Regions from separate parts of the Homo sapiens genome. Here region 2 is linked to region 1. The links are contacts of gene promoters, found by promoter capture Hi-C in blood cells and fetal thymus (Javierre and others, 2016). All regions are on one chromosome and are shown on one strand. Each heading gives the region's core, a stretch centred on a gene start or on the middle of the fragment in contact. The rest is flanking DNA. Distances are from core to core; before and after follow the strand shown.

The links. The method cuts DNA at HindIII sites, captures the fragments that hold promoters and counts their contacts. A CHiCAGO score of 5 or more calls a contact.
Region 2: a fragment that was not itself captured here is called in contact with the fragment with the promoter of CTIF in region 1 in 1 of 17 cell types (erythroblasts); the score reaches 6.5 in erythroblasts.

The regions. Positions count from the first base shown.
Region 1 is chr18:48,537,781-48,544,296 of GRCh38, forward strand. It overlaps CTIF (cap binding complex dependent translation initiation factor), which reads left to right and starts at 1,251. Exons shown (of 12, transcript NM_014772.3): 1 at 1,251-1,532. RefSeq lists silencers at 1,357-1,436, 1,937-2,296, 2,727-2,816, 3,137-3,616 and enhancers at 4,771-5,547, 5,548-6,322. The HindIII fragment of the contact is 7,178 bases long and covers 1-6,218 here.
Region 2 is chr18:49,446,796-49,453,316 of GRCh38, forward strand. All of the region lies in intron 1 of DYM (dymeclin), which reads right to left. Among named protein-coding and RNA genes, the nearest start is that of DYM, 11 kb to the right of the region's middle. The HindIII fragment of the contact is 1,333 bases long and covers 2,415-3,747 here.

The DNA of each region.
Region 1 (6,516 bases), core at 1-2,500:
AAAAAAAAAAAATTGGCCAGGTGTGGTGGCGGGCGCCTGAAGTCCCAGCTACTTGGGAGGCTGAGGCAGGAGAATGGCATGAACCAGGGAGGCAGAGCTTGCAGTGAGCCAAGATCACGCCACTGCACTCCAGCCAGGGCAACAAAGAGAGACTCAGTCTCCAAAAAAAAAAAAAAAGAAAAAAAAACTTAGAAATTCTTTGCTCAAGTATCACTTCCTCCAGGAAGTCTTCCTGACCCTCTCCCAGACCCCACCCACCCTCCATCCAGTTGGCTGCTCCAGGTTGTGTGGTGGGGGGAATTTCACAGCACTTTGTGTTAAGCGCTGACTTATCCCTTGTATAATACTTTCATTGACTGTAGTCCCTAATACTGGACTGAGCTCCTTGAGCGCAGAGACTGTGAGTCTTACCTGTTTTGGCATTCCTAGACACACCTGGTCTGTGGAAAGTGCTCACTAAATGTGAATATAAACTAATGAATAAATGGGTTTCTACAGCAGTTTATACTGCATCACACAGTTCCTCTAATGAATTTCTAGCCCCCTTCCCTGTTGGGGCATACAGTATTTTATTCAGTATTTCTCCTGAAGGCCTCTCTGTGCCAAGCTCAGTTTTAACCAAAACATTGGTGATCTGGTTAAGTCATTACTGAATTATCCACTACGTTGAATTCTCCCAACCACCCCGTCCCAGCCCTTAGCTTGGCCGAAGGAAAATTAATTGGTTGCAAAGTGCGTATCTAATTACAACAGCCAGCCCCCGACACAGAGATGCTCAAATGTTAATTATAACATATGCATCTCAATAACCGACGGTGGCATTTAGTGCAGCATTAATCACGCCACTTGGGCCCCCCAGTGCATACACAAAGCTCCTTTTCATCTGCCATTAGCACAGACTTTGCACTTTCGGCACGGACGTTCTCATCCTTAAAGCCTTTCGGACTCTAAAACCAACGTTTCCCTGTAAGCCTGGACTGCGCCTAAGCCCCCAGTTCTCCCACCGCAGAGGCCCCCACCCAGGGCTGCGCCAGCGCCGTGGGGTCGCTGGGCGGCGGGTTTTGGCGTCGCTAGACTGGGCTGTCTTGGCAGCTAAGGCGACATCCCGAGCGTCCTGGGGCCACCCTGCTCTCCAGGGCCCGCCATCCTGGAAAAGAAAGGCGAACTACATTACCCAGCAGGCCTCCAGCCGCCCTCTTTCCTTTCAAGTCTTTGCACGTGGCCGGAGGGGAGGGCGGGGCCTGAACGTCACTCTCCTACATTCTCTTTCCCTGTGTCAGATCAGGGATCATTTTTTTTCCTTCCTCTACTCCCTCCCCCCTACCCGCCCCTCCCTCCCTGTTTCCCTTCCCTCCCTCCCTCCCCTCTCTGCTGGGTCTGTGCGCTGGGGCGCCCGATCCCCTCCGCAGCTGGGACGCTCCGAACTCGAGGCAGGAGTCGGCTCTCCGGAGCCTCGTCCCTCCCTTCCCCTTCCCTGCCCCCTTCCCCCACCCCCGACTCGGGCTTGGCGCGGCGGCCAGAGGAACCCCGAGGTGAGCATCTCCTCGCCCGTCCTCCTCTTATAGTCATCTCAGCTTGCTGATCGATTCGGGGACCCGGGAGGAGGGCTGCGTGACGTGGGCGTGCTTATAGATAAATCCGGGAAAACCGCCCCAAACAATCAGCCCCCTTCCCCCCATCCCTGCTCCTGGGCCAGCGGGGTGTCCGCACCCATCTACCATCCCCTCCTCCCCCTCGGTGGGGAACTGCACTCCACAGTGTCGCCCCCTCCCTGGGTTTGTCCCATTCCCTGCCGGGTTCCCCGCCCCGCGGGGTGTCGTGGCCCTGGAGCTCCGGCGCCAAGGGGGGCTCTTGGGGGACGCACGGCTGGAGCCCGGCTCGCTTTGGAGCTGCGCGGTGTAGCCGCTGTCATGTGCCGGGTTCCGACCTGGGAGGAGGAAAAGAGCGAGCGCGATTCCTCTCCCTTTTGTTTTGAAGCCCGCATTTGCTGCATCGAGCAGTTGGTTTAGTATCAGCCAAACTTGCAGCTGTTCAGACCGCGCTCCGCCGAGGTAGGGAGCCCGTCTCGGGGTGGCGTTTGGGGGCCGGGGGCTGCGGCACTCGGGGCTGCGGGAGGGACCCCGAGAGTGTGTCGCCACGCCGCCCCTCCCTTCCCCGGTGACTGATTGTGTCTGTGGCAGCGGGCGTGTGTGAGTGTGCGCGCCCGTCCCCGCGGGCTCGGGGATGTCTGTGGATGGCTGTCGTCTAGACAGGGCGCAGCCCCCTCCCTGCGTCCCCGGTGAGCCCGCGGGCCGCGGGGGGAGCGGGGGATGGGAGCAGAGGAAGAAACCAAATCGGTGGACCCGTTGCGGTCTCCCCTTTGGTTATTCCCAACGGTTGTGGTTCTGTTGGCTTTTTTTATTATTCCTGTCGCTGCGGTGCAATCGGGCCTGGGGAATAGATACGCCCGGCGGAGAGGGGTTCACTTGACAGGCTCTGAAAAGCCACCTCTGGGTGGCGAGTGACCCGAGAGGCCGTGGGGTGGGCTCCGGCTCGGGTTCATCAGGACGACGAGCAGGTAACTGTCCCGGGCGCCGGTCATGGGGGAGGGCGGGCGGGGGGGCGATGGCTTGGGCTGCGGCGAAGGTCTGGGGCCTCGGAGGGCCGCGTGCCGGTGCCTGGATGTGGCCGGAGGGGGCGTCCGGGACACCGCGCGCCTGAGCCGAGTGTTTCTCTATTGATGGTAAAAGACAATCGGGAGGGGGGTGGTCCGAGCCCGTTATCTGGGCGGCGTTGGCTCTGTTTGGTTCCGCGGAGTTTTCAGGGTTGGGGCTGGGGGGTGTGAGCACCGCGGGGTGTGCGGCGTGTAGAGGGGAGGGCTGACTGGCGGCGCCGCGTGCGTCTCCACCCCGAGGAGTGAGGCGTCGCCTCCCCCGCCCGGCTGTTTGTGTGTACACACGGCTCCGGTGTGTGTGGGGGGCGGGGACCGCAGACCGCGGCGTAGTGGGGACAAGCGTGGGCCCCGATCCTCCGCGCGACCTGTCCCGCCAGCCCCCTCCTTGTCTAAGTCGGGGTCGTGTGTCCCCGCGCGCGCGCGCCCGAGTTACTTGGAGAGGGGACCGTGCGGCTGTGGGCCGGGGAAGACCGTAGGGTCGCGTGTGCTGGTCTTCGGTGCAGGAGTCCCAGGTCCGCTGTGCGGCCGGAGTCACACAGCCCCTCCCTCCGCGTCCGCGACGCCCCGTGACCCGGCAGACTGGGGGTCCACCCGGCGGCGCGGGGGGTTGGTTTGGCTGCGCCGCCCCCAGTCCACGCTGGGGTGACCCCGCACCGAGGCGTTCTATGGGTGTGCGTGCCCGCGCTCGCCGCCGCTGCCTTCGCAGACCGGGGAGAGAGTCAGCGACTGCCAACCGCAGCCCCGGCTCTTCAGTCTGGGGACAGTGGGAGCCCAAGCCCAGCGCGCCCCAGCCCGGCCCAGGCCGCCGCCCGCCCGGCGCTGTGTCTCTGCGGCCCGAGGATTATCCCCCAGTCCAGGGGCCCGCGCGACCAAGGAGGAAGCCGCTGGAGCCGCCGGCTCGGCCGCGGCTAGAGCCTCCGTAGGGCGAAAGTGACACAGCGCGAGAGAGCGCCGCCGCTGCTGGAGCCAGGGCCGAGAGGAAGGAGCCGCCCAGAGCGCAGGGAGGGGCCGCCGGCTGTCCGTTCCCAGTTCCTCCTGCCCAGGGCCCGATCTGGGCTGAAAACCTCAGGAATCCAGGCTCCTAGCAGGCTCGGGCTGCGCGAGGAGATGGCCTGGCTTTCAAGAAAACCCAATTATACGTGAACAGAATGCACCGAACAGACGCTAGAGGATGGCCAGGACACGCTCAGGTTGTCTGGGGAAACTCCTGAGTGTTTGACACAGGATTCGATTTACACACAGATCACCTCATCTGTGTCAAGTATCTGTCCTGGATAATGGATGCTCAGAGGCAGCAATTTTGTAACACATTCTAGGGCACAGTGTCATCAGTGATTAACAGCTTGCTAGAATAATAATATGTTTGTATGACCTTACAGGGCAGGTTTTCTTCCCCCAGAACCTCCCCCCTCCCCCGCCAGATATCATAGCATTTATTAAGAGGGTCCTGTGAGGTAGGAGAGTATTAGCCCCATTTTACGGATGAACACACTGAGGCTCAAAAATGTGGCTTGCATAAGGCCTCTGGGTGGGGGAAGGGCCACATTCCCCCTTTTCTCAGCTTATGGCATTTAATTAATAGTGGCCACTTTTTTTCTGAGTATGGATTCTTGACACCTCAGGAAATACTGAAGCTAAAAAATAGAGTATATTATGCTGACACATATTCTTTCTCAAAACACTCTTGATTTGTTAACCATTCCTAATGAGAGCAGCCACTAAAGAACGGAAGTCTGCATTGCTGTTATTACCACGCATTTAATAATTTGCTGTTGGTGAATGGATAGCAGCTGTGATACATCCAGTTTCTACCAGAATCATATGTGCATATAATAAATGTATATGGTATGCCTGTTCATGTAACACTTACCTGTGTTTGTATGGCTGTGTTCATTGAGTCTTTATTGAATTCAAGGAGCAAAGAACTTATACATGCCTGCATGGATTTCTCAGAATTCATGCATGTGAAGGCTGTCAGACAGCCTGGAGGGTTATTAAGTTTAGCCAACTAATCAATTAATTAACCATTCACTCAATATGTACTGGGCACCTACATGTTTGTGTATCTAGAAGTGCATACAAAGAAAACTTAACAAATGTTAATTAAGTCCAGCAAATGTTTATGAAGCACCAGCCTCACTTAGGCCAGATACTCTGCTTCTCTACAAAGATAGTAGAGCAGAGATAGTTAAGTTGCAATGCAATAACACAGCCTACAGGAGGGAACAAATCATAAATATTTTAGAGCAGTCACCCTGGAACTTAGTTTCACATATGTTGGTTTCAAGGGGCCCAAGATGCCAGTTCTTATTCTAGAGCAAATGCAGAAGGAAGCGATGGGGAAAAAACACCTTGATAGCCTTGTTACCCTGAACTTCAGGCTGTTTGCAACCTCCCGGGAGGGCCCAGAGGTATGTTCTTCTGTGGAAGTTAGGCAGCTGATGGAAATTACCCTGAAGCCAACCAACAGGTTTCTGGCGACACGGAGCTAAGGAGATGTTCTCCGTGGTCCCGCCCCAGCTCAGATGTGCTGTGACTCAGGGACAGGCTGTGGCTTTGGTCAAGGTCTCACTCAGGCCCTGCCTGGGTGTAGGAGTTTCTGCCTTACAGGTCTGTGTAGGTGTGTTAATACAAGTCTGCTTTTTATCTAATCCCAAACTCACCGTCTGGTCCCAGATATTGTCCTCTAATTTCATTTCTGTTTTGGGCTCCATTGCCCTTGTTTTAAGGTTATGTTGTTTGCAGCTCAGGTCATGAAGGAGGAGGCAGGAGATGGGTGGTTAGGTTGGAGAGAGAATCCTGAGCCCAGATAGAGAACAGGAGGTACAAACATGCAGGCAAATTGCAGTTTCTGAGAATTCTCCACACGTGGTGGCATTTCTGCATAACTTACCTGATAACACAGCCCCATTTGATGTCCTTGGCTTGGCAGGGGGAGGGGGCGTCTACCTCTGGGCCTCACTGCTGACTCACCGGCACCCTGAGCTCAGCTGCTTCCTTTCAGGTTTGGGTTTTCTTTTGCCCCTGCCTCCCGCTGTGTGCGGTTTAATTTAGAACCTTGCTATAATGGTGGCCTTCTCCCTGTGTTAGCACCGTGCTCTCAGCATGCCTCTGACTTTGGAATTAAGGCCAGAGCTGTGGTTCACAACGGGGTGAGAACAGACACATCCTTGGATCTCCGGCACCCAGAGCTGGGGAGGACTTTGAAGATGATCTGATCTTCACGTGAAGACCTGAAGCCTAGGGAAGTGGAATGACTTGCCTAAGGTCATGGTGAGCCCTTAGCAGAGTGGGTAAAAAATCCTGGAATTTGAGATTTCATCCAATCTTCTTTCTATGTACCGTAATGCTTTCTGGAAAAAAGTTAGGTTCTTCCCAAAGAGTGAGAACTCTTTATCTTCTTCTCTCCTGTCTTCTGGTTCTGGGAAGGGCTCTGAAATTCATTTGACTTCTCTTTCCTTCACAACTGGCCCTTCCTGCCTTATCTTCATCTTTGGCATTCATGAGCAAATGAAGGTCTGTATTTGGGAAATATAGGGTGTCTTGGTGTCCTACAGTGCTCTTAAGCTTGGTCTGTGGCTTTCTGGCCCTGAGGCAGGGTCCTCAGGAACCTTTTGGAAGTGTTTGCAAAGCTGGGATGCGTGTGTACTTTTCTAGGAAGAGAATCTACAGATTTCATTTGATTCTCAACTGACTCAAGTAAGGACAAAACTACTGGTAGGGAGAAGGACAGAAAGGTTGGATAGTGGTTGGTTGACACTGGGGCTACTTTAATACGCTGCACTTGATTTGGCTTTACAGTTTGCAAACTATTTCACACAAATTATCCCATCTGCCTTTTATAATAGGTGGTTATCGTTATC
Region 2 (6,521 bases), core at 1,831-4,330, 910 kb after region 1:
CGCCTGTAATCCCAGCACTTCGGCAGGCCAAAGTGGGTGGATCACCTGAGGTCAGGAGTTCGAGACCAACCTGGCCAACACGGTGAAATTCCGTCTCTACTAAAAATACAAAAATTAGCTGGGTGTGGTGGCAGGCGCCTGTAATCCCAGCTACTTGGGAGGCTGAGACAGGAGAATCACTTGAAACCGGGAGGTAGAGGCTGCAGTGAGCTGAGATCACGCCACTGCACTCCAGCCTGGGCAAGACAGAGGAAGACTCCATCACAAAAAAAAAAAAAAAATGTTAAGACCTAAAGGACAAGAAGGGTTGGCCTGGGTGGATGTGGGAGTTCAGAAACTTCCAAAGCAGAGAACAGCACGTGTGAAGCCCTGTGGTTAAGAAATAACAGGTAGGGCCTGTTCAAGGACCTGAAAGAAGTTTAACATGGCTGGAACAGAAAAGGAATCAAAGCAGAAGCATAAGAGACCAGAAAGTACCTTTTTCGAACACGTCTCTTTCTCAAGGAGCTGCTCTCCTCTCTCCTTTCTTCTGTCTATTAAGCTTTCCACTCCTTAACCCACCCACATGTCCGTGTCCTAATTCTTTCTCGGCAGGCAACAACAAACCCTAGGGTATACACCCCAGATAGTGTAGCCACTTCATAATGGCAGCTTTGTCCGGGATACCAAGGTACAACATTCATAAGAACGGTAAGGGGAAGAGCGAACTCTAACTCTGTCCTTTCATTCCAAGGTTCTCGGCTTCCATTTTAGACCTTTCATGGAGGACTTAGCTGTCGTGTGGGGCTGGAAGAAGTCCTGGGGCAACTGAGGATTTCTGGCCGGCGCTACCCCCTGGTGTTATCCAAAGGCTTCTGGACCCCAGCCGCCAACCGCCCCAATGCGGTGTCGGCAACAGGATCTCCAACTTTCCTATTGTAATCTCCTCCTCTCCTGTTCGCAACCGTCATATCTCTTATCCTCTCTGTATGAAATGTGTGGGAAGTTTTATGGTTCAGGGAAGTAGTCTTGTTTGGTAAGATCAGGGAATGTCGTAGTAACAAGGCATATAGCTCAAGGGGAAGCGTCTTTGTGATTTTCTAAGAACAGGGCTCCCTGACCCCCCAACAGTGAGAATCTCTCTTTCTCTGCCCTTGGTCTGGAGAGCACATGGCATTTTCCAGGTCTCTCTCTGCCCTTGGTCTAGAGAGTATGTGGTGTTTCAAGGTCAACAGCGCCACCTAGTGAAATAGGAATCCTCTCCATGAAGCACACTGTCAGTCCAATGAAACATCCTAGCCTCCCAATTCTCTTTCCTTTTTGTGCCTCTCTACTAGAAACCAGGCTTTATGCTGGTTCTGTAAATGAGAAAACTCTGCCTTCAACAATTAGGGGTAAAATATTCCTCCAAAGCCAAAATTTAGTCTCAATACTGTCTCATCAGCAGGAAAATGGCCATTCAATCCCTAAGTTTTTTTAAGCCACCTATTCTGCCTTCAATTAGAGTAGTACTTAATTAGTAAGGGAATTTTAAGTTTGGAAGTTAACTGGAACCATTATCTAAGGGTAAATGCTTCAGCACAGGCCATAATAGCAGGATACAGAGTTCAATCTAGCACATCCCCTGCATTAAAGGGGCCTTGCCCAACTATTATGTAGTTTTTCTTGAAATCCATTTTTCAGGAAGCCAGGCAAGTCACACAAGTCTAGGAAGTTAAAGGGAAATCACAGGCAGAGGACTACAGCCACTTGGGTGAGCATGACTAGCCCCAGTGACTTAGTTCCTCTGGTTCCATGACTGGGGGTCACACTTGCAACCATGGGCAGCATGTTCAACAAGGTGCCTGGGACCCAGGAAACACAGGGGGAAAAAAGCAGGGGGGATGCCCCCACTGCTTCCTCTCCACCATGGGTCACACCAAAAGGAAGGAGACTAAAGGGCCACCTTTTTCTCTAAGTGGGTACCATCTTCATCCTGCACTCCCCTGGAGTGCATTCTGAAGCACAAGGATTTCTTTGACCCTGAAACTTTAAAAAGCAGCTCATTTTCTTTTGCACAGGGCATGGCCTTTTTACTAGACCTTTGCAAGCGTTACAGAATTAACCCAGCCCTTTTAGCAATCATATTGAGCAGGCCCAAAGAGAATAATTCCCCAAAATGAGAGAAGCAACTTCTGGGGAAATCATCTGAGGCAGCTATTGGGTGTCCCAGCCCTTCAAGTCCCCCTTATTTAGGGCCACCTCCAACCATACCACCAGTTCTTCCACCTCCACCATCTCCAAAATTTCCCACTCCCCACTTTCACTCTTACCTCTACAGGAAATGCCCAATGGAGGTGATGTCACTAGGGTTCAAGTTCCCTCCTCTTTGCAAGACCTTAGGCAAATAAAGGTGACTGAGGCCAATTTTCTGAAGACCCTGATAGGTATATAGAAGCTTTCCAAAATTTAACTCAGGTGTTTCACCTCTCATGAAGAGATTTTATGTTGCTTCTAAGCCAAACCCTAATTACAGCTGAAGAGCAGGCAGCAAAGAAATTGAAAGATAAGCAACGTTTCCTATAGTAGGCCTAAAACGAAAAGAGAAAATAGGGAAGGCAAAGAAATAAGAGAAACACAATTCCCAATAGGAAGAGAGGCGGTACCTCTTGACAACCCTAACTGGAATCCCCAGACTTTTCTATGGTGTTTTTCCTTCTTTCACAGTGTACAATGGTTCCTATCTCTTCCTGTATAATGTTCCTCCAAAGTAGGAAAAGTTAATTTCCCCAAACCTTAAAATGGTTGACTTAGAGTTGAGCTAATGGGAAGGGAACCCAGAAGCCTGACATGCTGGCAAAAGGGTAAAAGTTTTTTTACCAGTCAACATTTTGGCTTATCTCTTCCTGTGCAAACCAGTAACAAGGATAATAAGGATGATTGTTTATTCTCTGTAAAGTTTTAATTAATAAAAAAGAATTTGTGAGGTTGGTCTTAAGCTGTAACCAATCTGGTGTGCTTTGTGTGTCTTTCTGTAGCGTTCTGTCAAAAGAAAGGGTACCTTAGGTTAGGATGCAGGCCCAGGACCCCATAAGCCTGACTTTGTCTGGGTCCTAGACTCCACACCTGGTATATAATTAAAATCACTTACTAACCAGGTTTTTTACCTAAAGTAAAAGTTGCTGAGAGTTAACAGTGCAACATGTATTTGAGATCTCTAAAGTTTTATATGCAAGGCTTATAAAAACAGTGAAATGTGTTTTTTAGTAAAAGATTATAAGAAAGCATGAAAATATAAATTTTGCCCAGGGATAAGAGATTATCTTAAATTTAATAAGACAGAGCTAAAGGTTTAAGCAAGTTACAGGAAGACAAAAATTAATCTTGCAAAAATGTATAAACATTAACTAAATTCAAAAGGGTATTATATGGTCTTTTCCTAAATTGAGCATTGAAAGAAAAACACGGCAAGGCTGTCTTAAGACACTAATCTGCCGTTTAACAAAAGGGGTTGTAAAGGGTTTGTAAAGACTTCACCCCATGGTCATTGGTTAAGATTAGGTGAACTTTCCTATGAGGTTTTATCAAAAGGTTGTTTACAACTTTAATAAACTAATACAAGGGTAAAATTTGGCTTTAAACAGGATTTTCATGTAATAGTAAAGGATGATGAAAGATTTTTTCCTTTTGTGACATCATTTTGGCAAAATAAATAATGGCAATTTGGAATTCTATTTCATAACATCAAGTGTTTTAAACCTCTAACATTTAAAAGGCATCCCAAAATCAAGCTTCAAGTTTCAAAATTGTCCTTCCTGATGCCTGGCTTTCTGGATTGTTCAGAAGGCCCCTGAAACATCCAGAGAAGAGGTAAACAGGATTATCTGACATGTTTAGTCACATTAGAATTGCCAAAACGATGTCCAATCTTCTTTAAGTTATATTTTGGTGAATAATACTAATATATGTTCCAAAATTGTATGGGATTTCTAAAATTCTAATGTCTAAGTATATACTATCAATCATAATTAAGGTTAACTAAACTTTTTCCGTCATGTTTTTAACTGTAACCTGGAAATTTTGTCATGCACAGACAATTGTTGTTTTGCTTTGTTCCTTCTGAAAAGACAGTTTATAATCAAGCTATATTAAGGACTTTCAACAGGTGTCCTCAAATGCAGGTTTTTAACAGCTTTGAAGATTGTAACATTGGAAGAGAGAAAGAACGTACAGGACTCATGAACTGAAATGTTCACAAATATCAAGCAAAACAAGAATTGACTAAATGGACTACACTCAGAAAGCTAAAGCAATCTTTTTGACTTTTGCTTGGAATATTGCTGATCCTTGGTTTGTTTTTCAGAGTCAAGGAAACTTATTTTGAACTATTTACAGCCTTTAATAATTGAGTAAGGTATACTCCTGTGAACAAAACTTGAAGCATGATTGTTTCTCTCTGCCTGGTTCCTCTAATCTGTGAGAACTCTTAACTTATGGCAATATAGTTGTTTGCATCAGTGAAATAAGAATCCATTTTTCTTTTTCAACAGGACACAAATGGAAAAACTGGCTATTTTATCAAGGCTTTGACTGGAAGTGTATGCTTCCCTTTAAGGAGTCAACCTCCACTTGCAGAGCTGAAAAAGCCCCATGGGAAGAACTGGCCTCATACCTTGTCTACACAGTCCCCGCACAGGGTTCCTAACCTTTGGTCAGTAAAGAATGTCACTTTCTAACAGGTCCAGGAGCTCCAAGTTTATCTTGGGACCTTAAGAGAAAAGGATCACCCAACTCACAGGTATTTGAAGATACAAACCCATGCTGGGCTCAGCTTTAAGAAGTCTTATCTGAGATTTCTTGTGGAACAGAGTTCCATCGAAGCCAATCCAAAAGGACTATGCAGAAATAATTACTCTTGCTGAACTTTATGCAAATAACAAGGCCAAATATAAGACTAAGGTTTATTCTACAAACAACACGGTCCTATCATAATTTGTTTTTACCAAAATCAGGACTAGAGAGAGAAAATATGCTCCAAAGCTTATCATACATTTGTCATTAAATCCTAGTCACATTAATTGTTTTTAAGTTGTGTGCCTACATTTTAGACTAACACTGCTTATTCCTGTGAATCAAGTGGTGATCTCCTGAAGCTTACAAGAAACAAAAAGAGATGGGTAACACAAAAATCTGGATACCTTGGCAAATAAAATTTTAGATGGAAAGTATCTACTACACCACACTTGTGGGAATTGCTATACTCACTCTACTATTTGCAGTAGGGTTATACATGGCAGTGTGTCTGGAATTGGTGGATTCTTGGTCTCATTGACTTCAAGAATGAAGCCACAGACCCTCACAGTGAGTGTTACAGTTCTTCAAGGCGGCATGTCCAGAGTTTGTTCCTTCTGATGTTCGGATGTGTTCGGAGTTTCTTCCTTCTGGTGGGTTCGTGCTCTCGCTGGCTTAGGAGTGAAGCGGCAGACCTTCGCGGTGAGTGTTACAGCTCATAAAGGCAGTGTGGACCCAAAGAGTGAGCAGCAGCAAGATTTATTGCAAAGAGTGAAAGAACAAAGCTCCCGCAGTGTGGAAGGGGACCTGAGCGGGTTGCCATTGCTGGTTCAGGCAGCCTGCTTTTATTCCCTTATCTGGCCCCACCCACATCCTGCTGATTTGGTCCATTTTACAGAGAGCTGATTGGTCTGTTTTGACAGGGTGCTGATTGGTGCGTTTACAATCCCTGAGCTAGATATAAAGATTCTCCAAGTCCCCACCAGATTAGCTAGATACAGAGTGCTGATTGGTGCATTTACAAACCTTGAGCTAGACACAGAGTGCTGACTGGCGTATCTACAATCCCTCAGCTAGACATAAAGGTTCTCCAAGTCACTGCCGTGGGCTCCTGCGTGGCCTGAGCCTCCCTGACGAGCGCCGCTCCCTGCTCCCCAGCGCCTGGTCCCATCAACCGCCCAAGGGCTGAGGAGTGCAGGCGCACAGCGCGGGACTGGCAGGCAGCTCTGCCTGCGGCCCTGGTGCAGGATCCACCAGGTGAAGCCAGCTGGGCTCCTGAGTCTAGTGGGGACTTGGAGAACCTTTATGTCTAGCTAAGGGATTGCAGATACACCAATCAGCACTCTGTGTCTAGCTCAAGGTTTGTGAACAGACCAATCAGCACCCTGTGTCTAGGCTCAGGGTTTGAGGATGCACCAATCGGCACTCTGTATCTAGCTAATCTGGTGGGGACTTGGAGAATCTTTATGTCTAGCTAAGGGATTGTAAATACACCAATCAGCACTCTGTGTCTAGCTCAAGGTTTGTAAATGTACCAATCCACACCCTGTGTCTAGCTCAAGGTTTGTAAATGCACCAATCAGCACTCTGTATCTAGCTCAGGGTTTGTAAATATACCAATCAGTACTCTGTATCTAGCTAATCTAGGGGGGACTTGGAGAACTTTTGTGTCGAGCTCAGGGATTGTACACGCACCAATCAGCACCCTGTAAAATGGACCAATCAGCAGGATGTGGGTGGGGCCAGATAAGGGAATAAAAGCAGGCTGCCCC